Regions from separate parts of the Homo sapiens genome. Here region 1 is linked to region 2. The links are contacts of gene promoters, found by promoter capture Hi-C in blood cells and fetal thymus (Javierre and others, 2016). All regions are on one chromosome and are shown on one strand. Each heading gives the region's core, a stretch centred on a gene start or on the middle of the fragment in contact. The rest is flanking DNA. Distances are from core to core; before and after follow the strand shown. Region 1 overlaps LOC105375199 (a long non-coding RNA gene). Region 2 holds the start of SNX10 (sorting nexin 10).

Region 1 (3,017 bases), core at 382-2,881, 180 kb before region 2:
CTCAGTTCTTTAGAAATGGACTAAATGGCTGGTGTCATCACTTACAAAGATGTCTTGAATTTGATGGAGTTTACGTTGAGAAATAAAGTTTATAAAGTTTATATTTTTCATCTTTTAATACCACTTTTCTACGAACTTTTTTTTTTTTTTTTTGGAGACAGAGTCAGCTCTGTCTCCCAGGCTGGAGTGCAGTGGTACAATCTTGGGTCACTGCAACCTCCATCTCCTGGGTTCAAGCCATTCTCGTGCCTCAGCCTCCCAAATAGCTGGGACTATACAGGCACATACCACCATGCCTGGCTAATTTTTGTATTTTTAGTGTAGACAGGGTTTCTCTATGTTGGTCAGGCTGGTCTCGAACTCCTGACCTCATGTGATCTGCCCACCTCGGCCTCCCAAAGTGCTGGGATTACAGGCATGAGCCACCGAGCCCCTGCCTAACTGGTTTAATTTTATAATCCCTTTCTCCCGAGGGAAAAAAAAAAAGAAAATTCAGATTTTTCAAATTTCAGACAAGTGCTCTTTACTGCTTTTACTGAGATTTTTCCTTGCCAATCATTTCCTGGAATTTCTCCATTGATGCCTTTCATTGCTAGTCTCAGCTTTTTGCTGAAGGTTGATTATGTGACTAAAAGTTGGTTGCAAAAAATGTCCCTACATATCACATTTTCCCAAAGTTCTGCTCTTTTTCCAATTCAACCTTCATGGTTTTACTTTTCCCTGCAATATAAGTAATCTCTCAGCTGCTAATTCACAAAACCTCAGAGTTGGTGACTTCTCTCCCCATCTAGTCATTCTCTGAACTGACCAAAGTAGGAAGGTTTCAAGTGTCATCTTATGAAGACCCACTTTTCCCAAAGGACACTGTACAGGTGAGACAAGAGGATGTATTCTAGTCGAGGCAAGGCTTCTGCAGCAGTCAGCAAAGCAGCAGAGTGGTTTAGCACTAGCCAAACGGATGATAGTGCTATATCTACCTACGTAGACAAAGTCACACCTGGAAAGAGGCAGAAATAGAATAACCCCTGGGCATTATTTATTTTAGAATAGGAAGAAAGAAATTGAGGAAGACTGGGCCTTACCTGATATGCCTGGCAATTAATGAGCAGAGAGCAGTGCTGGTTACCATATTAGCTGAGAGATAAAATGTGTAAGGGAATGAAAGGAGGCAAATCTACTCCCAACAATGGTCACCAATCAGATTTCCCAGAGTCCAAGCTCTCTGGACATTCAAGGAGAATTTTCTAAAGCTTTCCCTAAGTTGCTAAACCATTGTCCCCCAATAACAAATAATTTATATCAACCTAGAGAATAATTGGGCCTTGTATCAAGACACGGTGAGGCAGAGCACTTGTAAATGATGAATGAGCAGCAGGGCCAGTCACGCTGATATAAACTCAAACCATGGTGGCCACCGTCCATTAGGAAGTTCCAAGTGGAATCCATCCATAATGGGATTTTATACTCATAGTTGTGCCCAACCTTGCCACGGCAGAATCCCCATTTGTGTGCCCAGAAGTGCAATCAAAGAGTCATTTCTGCACTATGATTCTGTCTTGATTTTCTTAGCTATGCGTGACCTTGAGCCTGGGCACTTCCCTTCTTCATATCAGGACATTAAAGGGAAACAAGAAAACATATTTTCTTTTTTCATATTAGGATCTCACAATTTTTACTGCTTCCTTTTTAACTTTTTAATACAATACATTCATGTAATGCCAAAATTAAGATAATGTTTGGGAAAAACCCAAATACCCAATTTACCAAATCACTCTAAAAGCTGGCTGATCAATATGTCCCCCTTTTGTTTCTGCAAAATTAGATTCATGATGTATATGTGATCTGTTCATCTGCTGCTTTCATTTATGATTATGGCAGGTATTTTCTCCTATAAGTTTCATAATCACAATTTTTTACAAAGGGTATATCAGCGTATTGTTGGCCCTAATTTAGTAAATCATTTCCCTATTGTTCATCCAGGCTGAAAGAGTCTTTATCAGCACAAGACCAAAGAAGCTTCCATTTGCTATTAAGTTTTGAGTTGGGAACTCTATTCGGAGAACAATTGCTCTGAAAGCTCTACGTGACTCCTTCGGATGCAAGAGTGAGGCCAGCTCAGCTGGGATAAGCTCCTACTACAGAAAAGTAGGGGGAAAATTTCAGAATCTGGTGGTTCATCATAGAGCCAGCACTAGCATGAAAGGATGAGGCTGCCACCTCAGGGACAAAATGAAAAACAAAACAAGAAAGCCACATCAAAGAACGAAAATTTTACCCATAATTAGTTGTGTTGAATATTGCTTGTTTTTCCCCTTTTGGTTACTGGTGTACAAACTTTTAACATGAACAACAACAAAAAAAAACTTTAATCATTACTTTTTTTTTTTTTTTTTTGAGGCAGGGTCTCATTCAGTCACCAAATCTGATCGCAGCTCACTGCGGCCTCAACCTCCCAGACTCATGTGATCTTCCTACCTCAGCCTCCTGAGTAGCTGGTATTACAGGCTCACACCACCATGCCCAGCTAATCTTTGTATTTTGGGTGGAGATCAGGTTTTGCCATGTTGCCCGGGCTAGTCTCGAACTCCTGGGCTCAAGCAATCTTCTTGCCTCGGCCTCCCAAAGTGCTGGGATTATGGGTGTGAGCCACCGCACCCACATAATGATTATGTTACTTTTTTTGCTGTTCTTTTTTTCATTGGCAAAAGGAATAAATGCACAAGATTTTTTTAAATCCAGACACAGTATATTGTCTCAGATCTTGACCTCTATCCTTCTGGAATTTTTCTTTGTATATATATGTATATTTACATGTGATGTCCCTTTTTGTTTACACAAATAAGAACACACACTGTATTGCACTTGCCATTTTTATTTGACCTCAGGTCTCAGATTGATTCATCTTGGCATAGATAATCTACTTCATTATTTTTTGTAAGAGCTGCATAGTTTTTCACTACATGAAAGTGCTATAACCATTTCCCTAGTGTGAGATATTTTCATAGTTTCTAGGGTTT
Region 2 (2,898 bases), core at 1-2,500:
GCTTTGTCTACAGCTGTAAAGTCATGCTCTTGACAATAAGTTCAGAAAGATTTTAATTTTACAGAATCTCTTAGGATCTTAGATACATGCTGCATTTTGTTTTCTACTCAATGTTTTTCTTTGCGGAGCATAGGGACAAGAATATAAAAAATACACTTTAATTTGATTTTCTTTCTTTTTTTTTTGAGACAGAATCTTGCTCTGTCGCCCAGGCTGGAGTGCAATGGCATGATCTCGGCTCACTGCAACCTCTGCCTCCCGGGTTCAAGCTATTCTCCTGCCTCAGCCTCCCGAGTAGCTGGGATTACAGGCGCGCGCCACCACGCCCAGCTAAGTTTTTGTATTTTTAGTAGAGACGGCATTTCACCATGTCAGCCAGGATGGTCTCCATCTCCTGACCTTGTAATCCACCCGCCTCGGCCTCCCAGAGTGCTGGGATTACAAGCGTGAGCCACCACACCAGCTTAATTTGATTTTCAAAAGTGATCATGGTTGCATTCACTTGTGTGTCATGACTTGGGTGCAATTTTAGGAAATTAAATACCAGTGATTGAGGGTTCAGCAATACAACTTCAAGATCCAAGATGTTAAGACACAACATTGTATATTTATACGTTTTGTTAGGGAGTTAATGTAGGTGTGGTGAACAGATGCGTTTTCAGGTGGGCCTGGAATGGTCCCTGGAGGATGATCAGCGACAAGCTGTATCTAATGGGAAAATTCATGCTTGAAAAATGAAATATTAGGCTATGCTTATTATTCTGTGTCATTCAGTCACTTATTAGCAGTTTAAGTGATGATTGTGGTTTCCCATGCAAACAGGTGTGGGGACCCAGCCTCAGGTGCCATTTGGGAAATGCTTTCCTCAGTCAGGTCCCTTGGCAGATCTCATTAGCTTTCCCCCCAAATGTTTTATTGAGACATTTCAAACATAGACAAAAACTGAAATAATTTTATATAAACACCATAGCCCACCACCTAGATGCTATGAACATTCTGCCATTCTTGTTTATCACGTTATTTATCCGTCCTCCTCCCCATCGGCAATCCTCCCCATAACTGTGGGGTCAGGGTTAGGAAGCTTAAGGTGACTCAGGTGGCGAATTCCGAAGGGTGCCGCTGGAGCACCTCCAGCCTCAACGTCCGGACTAATGGGGGCATTTCCTCCCTAACTCAATTTCAGGAAGCAGGAGGCTAGCTCTGCAGGGTGGGGGCGCACCTGGGCTGGGCTGCGCGGAGGCGGCGGAAGCACTAGGCGCGGCGCCCACAGGCGGACGGCTGGCGCTGAGCGCGGGCGCGGGGCCGCTACGTGCGCGGGGAGCGCGGGGAGCGCGGGGAGCGCGGGGCTGCGCTCGTGTGCGCTCCTGGGCGCTCGCCGCCGCCGCTGCCGCCGCGCGCCTTTGAGTCAGCAAACTCCGCGGCCCGCAAGCCCGGCTCGGCCCGGCCCTGCTCTGTTCTGCCCGGAGGAGCCGCCCGTAAGTGACAAGAGACCCGCTGAGGGGGCCTCCCCTGCACCGCCCAGGTGGGGACGGCGGCCCTTCTTTCCAGAGGCGCGGGCCCTTCCCGCTGTTCCCAGGTGCCCGCACCCTTGCGGGCTGGAAAGAGGTTTGGGTCCCTTGGGCTTGGAGCAGAGGAGCCGCCTCCTTTTCAGCCGAGGTGTGCCGGGCAGGGAGAAATGATCAGCGCGGTAGAGCGGGGAGATGGAGCGCGTCGATCCAGGGATTCTTGGCTAAAAAGACACCCCGGGGAGAGGGTGGGGCAGAGGTGGATTCTAGATTACGGAAGAAGTGCTGTGGCACCTTACACCAGGCCGGGTAGAAGGGGGTGGGGAGGTGGTTTTTAAAATTTATTTATTTATTTTTTTATTCATTCATTAACGGGTAGCCTTGAGTTGAGGAATTGGGAGGGGTAGGCAGGTTTATTCGTGGGATTGTGGGATTGAGGGAGAAGGCCCAGGGGAAAATCCATATAATTGACTGATTATCAGATTTGGTGACCAGGAAAGCAACAGCCTGTTTTTCAGTTCCGATGCATCATACTTTTCTCAAATTACACGGATTATTGAGGGGGATCGTCACGGAATGGGGAGCAACATGTCCTGCTGAAAGGAAGGGCTTCTATCTCTACAAGACACGTTAAAAATGATGGTATCAGAAAATTAGAACGGGGAGGAGGCTTGCACATGATCTCCATCAAACCTTTCATTTTACAGACAGGGAGGCTAAGGCCGAGGGACGCTGAGTGTTGGGACCAGGATCATTCAGCCAGATGGGAGCAGAACCAGGCCTACAACCTGGCAGGCTTCTGACTTCCACCCCGGAGTTATGTCCACCTCTGGGGCCTGGGAACTGGGTTTGGATTGCATAAGCTCCCCCTCCTCTCCCAGGAGGGGGCTGGGCTGGAGGCTGAGGCCTTCGCCAGGAAGAAGCAGGGACTGCTTGGATAGTTGACCAGCTTCTGCAGGGGCTCCTCAGTGAGAGAATGGAGGTGAGGTCAGGGACTCCTGCCTTGCCTCTGCCATCACTTCCAGTGATGCCTATTCCTAAGGTAGGTACATAGCTGGACCTTCATTATTCTTAATATTATTTACTTTTTTCTTTTTCTTTTGAGACAAGGTATTATTCTGTCACCCAGGCTGGATTGCAGTGGTGCGATCTTGGCTCACTGCAAACTCCACCTCCCAGGCTTCAGTGATCCTCCCACCTCAGCCTCCCTAGTAGCTGAGACCACAGGTGCGGGCCACCACACCCCTGGCTAACTTCGGTATTTTTTTTGTAGAGACAGGGTTTTGCCATGTTGCCCCAGGCAGGTCTGGAAGTCCTGAGCTCAAGCAATCCACCTGCCTCGGCCTCCCAAAGTGCTAGGATTACAGGGGTGAGCCACTGCGCTCGGCCTTTT

Evidence for each region. Contacts are between HindIII fragments. The CHiCAGO score rates a contact against its expected background, and 5 or more counts as called.
Region 1: a fragment that was not itself captured here is called in contact with the fragment with the promoter of SNX10 in region 2 in 1 of 17 cell types (activated CD4 T cells); the score reaches 6.6 in activated CD4 T cells.

The regions. Positions count from the first base shown.
Region 1 is chr7:26,110,185-26,113,201 of GRCh38, forward strand. The region is part of intron 1 of LOC105375199 (a long non-coding RNA gene); the gene reads right to left. All of the region lies in intron 1 of LOC105375198 (a long non-coding RNA gene), which reads left to right. Among named protein-coding and RNA genes, the nearest start is that of NFE2L3, 41 kb to the right of the region's middle. The HindIII fragment of the contact is 766 bases long and covers 1,249-2,014 here.
Region 2 is chr7:26,290,612-26,293,509 of GRCh38, forward strand. SNX10 (sorting nexin 10) reads left to right here and starts at 1,251. Exons shown (of 7, transcript NM_013322.3): 1 at 1,251-1,475. RefSeq lists silencers at 1,275-1,514, 1,665-1,744. The HindIII fragment of the contact is 4,940 bases long and covers 1,080-2,898 here.